Regions from separate parts of the Homo sapiens genome. Here region 2 is linked to region 1. Evidence: promoter capture Hi-C in 16 types of primary human blood cells and fetal thymus (Javierre and others, 2016). All regions are on one chromosome and are shown on one strand. The core of a region is centred on a gene start or on the middle of the fragment in contact, and the rest is flanking DNA. Distances in the headings are between cores, read along the strand shown. Region 1 holds the start of SORT1 (sortilin 1). Region 2 overlaps SORT1 (sortilin 1).

Evidence for each region. The method cuts DNA at HindIII sites, captures the fragments that hold promoters and counts their contacts. A CHiCAGO score of 5 or more calls a contact.
Region 2: a contact is called between a fragment that was not itself captured here and the fragment with the promoter of SORT1 in region 1, in 2 of 17 cell types (M2 macrophages and megakaryocytes). The highest score is 9.7, in M2 macrophages.

What each region holds. Positions count from the first base shown.
Region 1 is chr1:109,395,500-109,400,129 of GRCh38, reverse strand. It overlaps SORT1 (sortilin 1), which reads left to right and starts at 2,212. Exons shown (of 20, transcript NM_002959.7): 1 at 2,212-2,543. The coding sequence starts at 2,238. It overlaps PSMA5 (proteasome 20S subunit alpha 5), which reads left to right. Exons shown (of 9, transcript NM_002790.4): 9 at 1-1,088. RefSeq lists an enhancer at 1,078-2,059 and silencers at 2,086-2,215, 2,256-2,325, 2,336-2,435. The HindIII fragment of the contact is 10,275 bases long and covers 1,185-4,630 here.
Region 2 is chr1:109,328,555-109,333,184 of GRCh38, reverse strand. The region is part of intron 11 of SORT1 (sortilin 1); the gene reads left to right. Among named protein-coding and RNA genes, the nearest start is that of MYBPHL, 24 kb to the right of the region's middle. The HindIII fragment of the contact is 5,647 bases long and covers 1-4,630 here.

The DNA.
Region 1 (4,630 bases), core at 963-3,462:
TTGTGTTTTACCTGGTAAAACAGTAAATTTCGTACCTTCTATAATTGGCATTCTTCAAAGAGGTAGAACTTTGATTTTTTTGTAGAATATTAAAACAAGCTTTCTTAGGTTAAAGAAGTGATCTTACTACGAACAGCAATGGTTTCATGATGTGTAATTGCTTTATGTTATCTTTCTGCTATAGAATGTTTCCTGGAGAAAGGTACGGTTTTTAGTAATAAGATAAATTTACTTTAGTCCTGCAAATAAGGTGAAATCTTATGTCCAGTATCTCACAAAGGAGAACTGACAGTGCCACTTTTATATTTAATGTCAATCTCATTAGACAAAAATGAAATATAGTTCCTAGGGTTTCCAATTTAAAAAGTGAAATAATAAATATATTCACTCAAACATTTTCTCAGTGCCATATGCAAGTTACCATGTCCCAGAAGCTGATACAGTTTGAAGAAGGAAATATATAAGTACTGTAAGCCTGTGATAACTAAAAGCAACATACTAAAAAGTGAAGGTACAGATAATTGGAACAAATTTAATAGCGTTTAAAAGTGTATTTGGTAATTTCTCCAGGAGGTGGCACTGTTGAGTTGTTTTTTCTTTTCAGACAGTAAGACAATAGACCATTCATCTTTGTGTCACCCAAACAAAGAAATATTCCTTTATAACCCCCTTTCCTCCCCCCACCTAATCACATGCTACTGGAACTGACTGTCTTGTGATCTACTCCCATAGTTGGCATAGATTTAAAAATAATCTTTTTTAAATTAATCTGATAGTAGTTATGGAAAGGAACAAATTGTTCACCAATTTTCATCAGCTTTATCTTTTCAGTCCAGTAACTGAGAACTTAAAAAGACTATTCTAGTGATTTTACTATCCTGCTCAGATGGCATTCAAAAACATTTTTCACTTCTCACGTCTTGGAAAAATTTGTAAATTCGTTAAGTCTTTTTGTTTGAAAGTTAATGTGACTGGAAATATTTTAATGTAAATATCGGGTTGGGTGCATTGTATCATTTTGCTCTACAATGACTATATCCTCATTTGGGTTTATGGCCAGTTTATAATTAAAAGTAATCTTTACTTGCTTTGAGTGTAATGACTTGCATATTTTGTATCTTTCTATTTGCTACCTTTTCTACTGAACAATTTCTAGCTTTCTGAAGGGATGGAGTCAGTAAGCTTAAGGATTCAGAACTGGTTTTACCTGTGCTACGTGTTGTAGAAGTTGTGTGTGCAGCTTCTGCGGTAAAGGGAACAGCGTAGGGGTTTTATTTTATTCATTAGAGGTGGATCGGGGTGCTAATTTAGAGGACATCACATACTGGAACCAAACTTGTCCGAAGCTCTCACTGCAGAGTTAAGGCACTTTGGTAAAATAAATGTGCATCTAGGAAATGATCATGTGTACAGTAGGCATTGGATCATTCTCTTGCCCCTCTTTTACCTGCCCCTAATGCCTAAGCTACATTCGAAGTCCTGGAAAACCTGTAAGTAATTCCGCCTTTGGCCTACCTCCCCTCAGAAGAGGAAGGTGAGAGAGGCCAAACGTATGGAAAGACTATTCTTCAGGCTTGCAGGAGTCACGGATGTCCTGATGTCTGTCTCCGTAGGATGTGGCCCACATCAGTTCGCATTCACCTTCTTGCAGCAAGGCAGCTGCTTAGCAGACAATGGGCGCTCCAGTGAGCGGGGTTTATAAAAACCCGAAGCCCCGGTTCATGATGGAGCCCCCTTTTCCAGCTGAGCAAGCTCAGGGATTTCCTGGGTAGGTTTTTCCAGGCTCTGCCTCACCGAAGGAATTTTAGGAGTGTCTCTGGGGAACAGGAGGGACGTAACCCAGCCCCAACTTGAGGGCGCTAGAGGTGCGGCAAGGGGTCGCGACGCCAGGAGCCCGGGGCTCGGCGGGAAGGTATGAGAAGCTCCTACGTGAACTCCACAAGCCGGGCCCGGGAGACGCCGGGCGAGGCGGGGTTGACCTCAGCAGTCTCTGCCCCGTTCCAGCCAATCAGTCCCGCATCTTAGCATCCGAATCCAGGACCCCCGAAGCCGGAGGCGACGCGAGCCAATGAGGAGTGGGCCGGGGAAGAGGGACAGGCGGCCAGCCTATGGGGCGGAGAGGCCCGGCCGCGCGTATCCAAGGAGCGCCGCGCTCGGCTCGGGGGTGTGGCGCGCGCCGGCGGGGGTGGGCGGGCGCGCCGGGCGGCAGGTGTCGGCGTCGGCGGCATTCGGCGGCGATGGAGCGGCCCTGGGGAGCTGCGGACGGCCTCTCGCGCTGGCCCCATGGCCTCGGCCTCCTCCTCCTCCTGCAGCTGCTGCCGCCGTCGACCCTCAGCCAGGACCGGCTGGACGCGCCGCCGCCGCCCGCTGCGCCGCTGCCGCGCTGGTCTGGCCCCATCGGGGTGAGCTGGGGGCTGCGGGCGGCCGCAGCCGGGGGCGCGTTTCCCCGCGGCGGCCGTTGGCGTCGCAGCGCGCCGGGCGAGGACGAGGAGTGCGGCCGGGTCCGGGACTTCGTCGCCAAGCTGGCCAACAACACGCACCAGGTGAGCGGGCGCCGGGCCCGGGAGCCGCTCGGGTGCGAGGTGCCGCCCGCGTGCCCCTCCCGGCCCGTGCGCCCCGCGACTCCCGGAGGAGACCCCAGCCCTGCCGCGCCCGCGTCCCCCGGGCCGCAGCCCCGAAACTGCGGCGGGCGGGCGGGCGGAGTCGGGCCCGGGCGGCCGGCGGGGCTGTGTTTTGTCATAGGGGAGGCAATCTTAGACTTCCACCGCATTCTTTTTTTTTTTTTTAAGTTGTCAAAATCTCTTGAACATCGTTTTTCGTCTGTATAAATAATCAGGACCCAGTAACGCTGTTAGGCCCCAGGAAGGTGAAGGAGTAATTAACTCTTGAGCGCTTGCAGAAGTTGGGCTGCGCAGAAGCAAAGGTGTGTCCTCTCTGGGTCAGTACTTTCCGGGTGGGAGAGGCGGGAGTTCAGGAGGCCCGAAGCAGCGATCTGGTCACCGTGTTTTAATAGTTAAGGGGACTAGCTTGGAAATGAGATGGCAATATTTATGTGATCTCTTTTACTGCTTCAGATTTGACCTTCTGTCATGGTACGGAAGTCTGACTAGCATGTCTATATCCCGTGGTGACAAGATTTTCAATAGTTAAGAAACGCATTGCACATATTCTGCTTTGAGCCAGCTCTTGGTCAAAAGACTTTCAAAATTATGGGATTTCTGTCCCTGGGGACAAGCAGCTCAACCTTTGCACACTACTGGACTGACAAAACTAATTATTAAGAAAGTCCTGGTTCCTTGCTTCAGCACAACTTGGGCATCTTTCTCCTATTTCTCTAAAATTAACAATTTAATCCTTGCTAGCCACATTTGCATAATGTATTTTCAATTCTATATATTTTCTCCCTTGCCTGTTTTCCTCTTTCAAAGAAAATGAATTGCACTTGGGGGCAGAGATGGGTGGCCAAGGCTCTGTGCCAGCACTTGTCCTTCTGTAACCGTTTTTCAGCGTCAGCCAAGCCTCAGTCTCCCTTTGGACTGCCTGGTTATCTGGACCATACTTGTTACCTGTAATAGAATTCTCTGATCTGAGGACACAAGACACAAATATTCAGGAATAATTGTGCTTAGTGTATCCCGAGCAGCAGCTGTGTAAAGGTAGCCAAGCTAGTGCTGGAGGGTGAGACAGGTTGGGTAGAATGAGTACTGGGAAGTCTTCCTACTTGATGAGAAAAAAAAATCGAATAGACTTCCTTCTCACAGTGGGGGATTGAGAAAGGCTTTACAACACTAATGCTTAATTTATACTGGACCACTTCCTTCCTTGAGCTAGCTGGTCACAGCATTCTTGCTCCATATTTCAAATTCTTCTCTCGCTGGTTGACCTAACTTTAGGTCTGCTGCTACTCCTGGATTTAGATTTACTCCTGTTTTTCTTTTTCTCTTTTTTTGTGAGATAGAGTCTTACCTCAGCCTCCTGAGTAGCTGGGACTACAGGTGTGCACCACTATGCCTAGCTAATTTTTGTGTAATTACTATTTTTTTTTTGAGATAGGGTCTCACTCTGTTGCCCAGGCTGGAATGCAGTGGTGTGATCACAGCTCACTGCAGCCCTGACCTCCTGGGCTCAAGTGATCCTCTCACCTCAGCCTCCCAAGTAGCCGGGACTACTGGTACATGCACCCAGCTAATTGTTCTTTTCTTTCTTTCTTTCTTTTTTTAAGAAACAGGGTTTTGCCATGTTCCCCAGGCTGGTCTTGAACTCCTGGGCTCAAGTGCTCCACCCACCTTAGCCTGCCACAGTGCTGAGATTAGAGGCGTGAGCCACTATGCCCTGCCTGGATTTATTCCTTGAGTCAGAGTCTTCCTGGTTAGTTTGAATTGATGTGTCATTTGTAATATATTGATTCCAAAGAAAGAGGTTGAAAAAACTGGCTCAGGGGTTCTAAGGCCAAATCTGTGGAAGAGTAGACCTAAAACCACTCATTCTTTGAAGTCCACATGTAAAGAAATTTTCTTCTATTTCTTTCATTTAGCTGTTTGCAATAATTTTTTTTTAGTTTTTCTCTCCCAGTCTTTTTTTCAGTGACCTTATTTAAAATAGCTATTTTGGCTGGGCACGGTGGCTCATG
Region 2 (4,630 bases), core at 1,428-3,927, 67 kb after region 1:
GGAGGCCAAGGAGGGTGGATCACGAGGTCAGGAGATCGAGACCATCCTGGCCAACATGGTGAAATCCCGTCTCTACCAAAAATACAAAAATTAGCTGGGTATGGTGATGTGCACCTGTAGTCCCAGCTACTTGGGAGACTGAGGCAGGAGAATTGCTTGAACCTGGGAGGCGGAGGTTGCAGTGAGCCGAGACCGCACCATTGCACTCCAGCCTGGCGACAGAGCAAGACTCCATCTCAAAAAAAAGAAAGAAGGGTTGAAATTTATTCTTCTGCATATAGATATTCAGTTTTCCCAGCACCGTTTATTTAAGAGGCTGTCTTTTTCACATTGTGTGTTCTTGACACCCTTGTCAAAGTTAAGTTGACAATAAATGCATAGATTTATTTCTGTGCTCTCTATTCTGTTCCATTGGTCTATTTGTTTTTAACGCCAGTACCATGCTGTTTTGATTACTATAGCTCAATAATATATTTTGAAATTAGGTAGCATGATACCCCCAGCTTTGTTCTTTTTGCTTGCAATTACTTTGGTTATTCAGGGTCTTTTGTGGTTCCATATAAATTTTAGGATTTTTTCTATTTCTGTGAAAAATACCATTGGAATTTTTTTTAAGAGGCAAAGTCTTAGTCTGTCACCCTGACTGGGGTCCAGTGGAATAATCATAGGTCACTGCAGCCTCAAACTCCTAGGCTCACACAATCCTCCCACGTCCCAAGTAGCTAGGTGTGTACCACCACACCTGTCTAATTTTGGTACTTTTTGGTAGAGATGGGGTTTCACCATGTTGCCCAAGCTAGTCTTGAACTCCTGGCCTCAAGTGATCCTACCACCTCAGCCTCTCAGCTGGGATTACAGATGTGAGCCACCACAACTGGTTGTTTTGTTCTTGATGTACCTTAAGTACCTAAAACAGTGCCTGAAATATAGCAGGTACTCAGTAAACATCTGATGAATTAACGTGTTTGGATTGTTCTGTGTTGTCACAGAAAGAGGGTTATTTATAACCATATAATAGTAAAAAAAGACAGTCAAAATAATAGGCATTACATTTAATCTGTAGATCACTTTGGGTAGTATGGACATTTTAACAATATTAATTATTCCAATCCAGGAACATAGGATATATTTCCTTTTTTTTTTTTTTGTCATCTTCAATTTCTTTCATCAATGTTTTGTAGTTTTTAGTCTTTCACCTCCTTGGTTAAATTTATCCCTAAGTTTTTTTTGTTTTTTTTTTTTAAGTTTTTTTCTTGTACTATTGTAGATGAAATTTTCTTGATTTCTTTTTTGGATAGTTTGTTGTTAGTGTATATTGTATTTTTATATGTTGATTTTATATTCTGCAACTTTTTTGAATTTATTAGTTTTAACATTTTTGGTGGAGTCTTTAAAGATTAAGGATTTTTATATATAAGCTCATGTCACCTGCAGACAGACAATTTTACCTCTTTCTTTCTGGTTTGGATGCTTTTTGTTTTTATTTCTTTTTCTTACTTAATTGCTCCAGCTAGGACTTCCATTACTATAATGAACAGAAGTGGTGAGAATGGGCATCTTTGTCTTATTCCTGATCTTAGAGGAAAAGGTTTAGCTTTTGACTGTTTGAGTATGATGTTAGCTGTGGGCTTGTCACATATAGCCTTTATTATGTTGAGGTATATCCCTTTTATACCTAATTTATTGAGAGTTTTTATCATGAATGGGTTTATTATGTTGAGGTATATCCCTTTTATACCTAATTTATTGAGAGTTTTTATCATGAATGGGTGTTGAAATTTGTTAAGTGCTTTTTCTGGATTTATCAAGATGATATGATTTCTATCCTTCATTCTATTAATGTGGCATATCTCATTTATTGATTTGCATATGTTGAACCATCCTTGCATTCCACAGATAGATCCTACTTGATCATGGTATATAATCTGTTTAATATGCTGTTGAATTCAGTTTGTTAGTATTTTGTTGAGAATTTTTGCATCTATGTTCATCAGAGATATTGACCTGTAATTTTGTTTTCTTCTAGTGTCCTTGTCTGGTTTTGGTAGCAGGGTAATACCACCCTTATAAAATGAGTTTGGAAGTGTTCCATTCTCTTCAATTTTTGGAAGAGTTTGAGAAGGATCGGTCTTAATTCTTCTTTGAAGAAAGTTTGCTAGAATTCACCATTGAATCCATCAGGTCCTAGGCTTTTCTTGTTGGGAGGTTTTTGATTACTGATTGAGCCTCCTTACTCATATTAGTATGTTCAGATTTTCTATTTCTTCTTCATGATACAGTCTTGGTAAGCTGTATATGTCTAGAAATTCATCCATTTTTTTCTAGATTATCCAATTTGTTGATGTATAGTTGTTCATAGTAGTCTCTTAGGATCCTTTGTTTTTTCTGTAGTATAAGTTATAATGTCTCCTCTTACATTTCTGATTTTACTTGAGTCTTTTCTTTTTTTCTTATTCTAATTAAAAGTTTGTCACTTTTTTATCTTGTCAAAAAAAACAACTCTAAGTTTCATTGATCTTTCCTGTTATTTTTCTAACTTCTATTTCAGTTATTTCTGCTCTGTTATTATTTCCTCCCTTCTGCTAACTTTGGGCTTAGTTTGTTCTTTTTCTAGTTCCTTGAGGTATAAAGTTAAGATTTTTGAGATTTTTCTTTTTTCTTAATGTAGACATTTATCACCATAAACTTTCTTCTTAGAACTGCTTTTGCTGCATCCCTTAAGTTTTAATATGTTGTGTTTCCCTTTTCATTTGTCTCAAGTTTTTTTTATTTCCCTTTGACTCATTGGTTGTTCAAGAATATGTTGTTCAATTTCCACATTCATGTGAATTTTCCAATTTTCCTCCCTTTACTGATTCTAGTTTCATAATGTTGTAGTTGAAAAGAACTTGAGGCCAGGCACACTGGCTCACGCCTATAATCCTTGCACTTTGGGAGGCTGAGGTGGGTGGATCACGAGGTCAGGAGTTCAAGACCAGCCTGGCCGACTTGGTCTCTACTAAAAATACAAAAAAAAAATAGCTGGGCGTGGCAGCGGGTGCCTTTAATCCCAGCTACTCAGGAGGCTGAGGCAGAGAATTGTTTGAACCCGGGAGGCGGAGCTTGCAGTGAGCCAAGATCACGCCACTGCACTCCAGCCCAGGTGACAGAGTGAGACTCCGTCTCAAAAAAAAAAGAAAGGATACTTGAGGTGATTTCAGTCTTACATTTGTTAAGGCTTGTTTTGTGGCCTAACATATGCACTATCCTGGAGAATATTCTCTGTGCACTTGAAAAGAATGTATATTCTGCTGCTATTGGATAGAATGTTCTGTATATGTCTGTTAGGTCCATTTGTATGGTGTTGTTCAAGTTTGCTCTTTCCTTACTGGTTTTCTGTCTGGATGATCTATCATTGAAAGTAAGTATTGAAGTCCCTTACTATTATTGTATTGTCGTCTACCTCTTTCTTCAGTTCTGTTAATGTTTGCTTTATACATTTAGGTGCTCTAATGTTGAGTGCATTTATATTTACCAATGTTATATGCTCTTGATGAATTGACACCTTTATCATTGTGTGGTAACTTTCTTTATCCCTTGTGATAGTTTTTTACTTAAAGTCTATTTTGTCTGATATAAATATAGCCACCCCCGGCTGGACATGGTGGCTCACGCCTGTAATCCCAGCTCTTTGGGAGACCAAGGCGGGCGGATCACGAGGTCAGGAAATCAAGACCGTCCTCACTAACATGGTGAAACCCTGTCTCTACTAAAAATACAAAAAATTAGCCGGGTGTGGTGGCAGGCGCCTGTAGTCCCAGCTACTTGGGAGGCTGAGGCAGGAGAATGGCATGAACCCAGGAGGCAGAGCTTGCAGTGAGCTGAGATGGCACCACCGCACTCCAGCCTGGGTGGCAGAGCGACACTCCGTCTCAAAAATAAATAAATAAATATAGCCACCCCTGCTCTCTTTTGGCTACCATTTGAGTGGAATATCTTTTTTTTATCTCTACTTTTAGCCTATGTGTCCTCTTACACACATAGGCCTTTACAGATGGCTTCAGCAGGGGAAGCCCTTACCAGGTAGCTCATCCAGAGATTCTTGGGGGGGCAACTGACAGGTTCTGCAGGTAGGTGGGCCTGGTGCCTTGGTCTTTGGGGGTAGCTTGGAGGCTGGGTCCTCTGCGGCAGGCCTGGCAGTGGAATCCACTAGGGTGGACCTTTTAAGTGGGTCTTCAGGTGAAACACCTGGAGCCCGGTAAGTAGATCTGCAGGAGCCAGCCTGGTGCAGGGGTGGGCCCTACCCTGAGCCTGCAGGGGCTGGCCTGATGCAGGGGTCCACTTGGCTGGGTCTGTGAGAGTGGACCTGGAGCCTTTAAGTTTCTTAAAGACAAGACTGGATCTTATTTCGAACCACCATCACATCTTGTACGGTGTCTGAAGTATATCAGGTGCTTATCAAGTTTATTTGTGTAGAGTCAGCCTTTAAACATTGTTCAGAGGCTTTGATGTAATGCAAAAATAAAATAAACGGAGACAGGTTACCCATGAGGAAATATTTGCTTCCAGATATTGTAGTACATTTCAGAATCAAGAGTATGCCACTGAGCTACAACTCAACAACAAACAAATAGCCTGAATAAAAAATAGG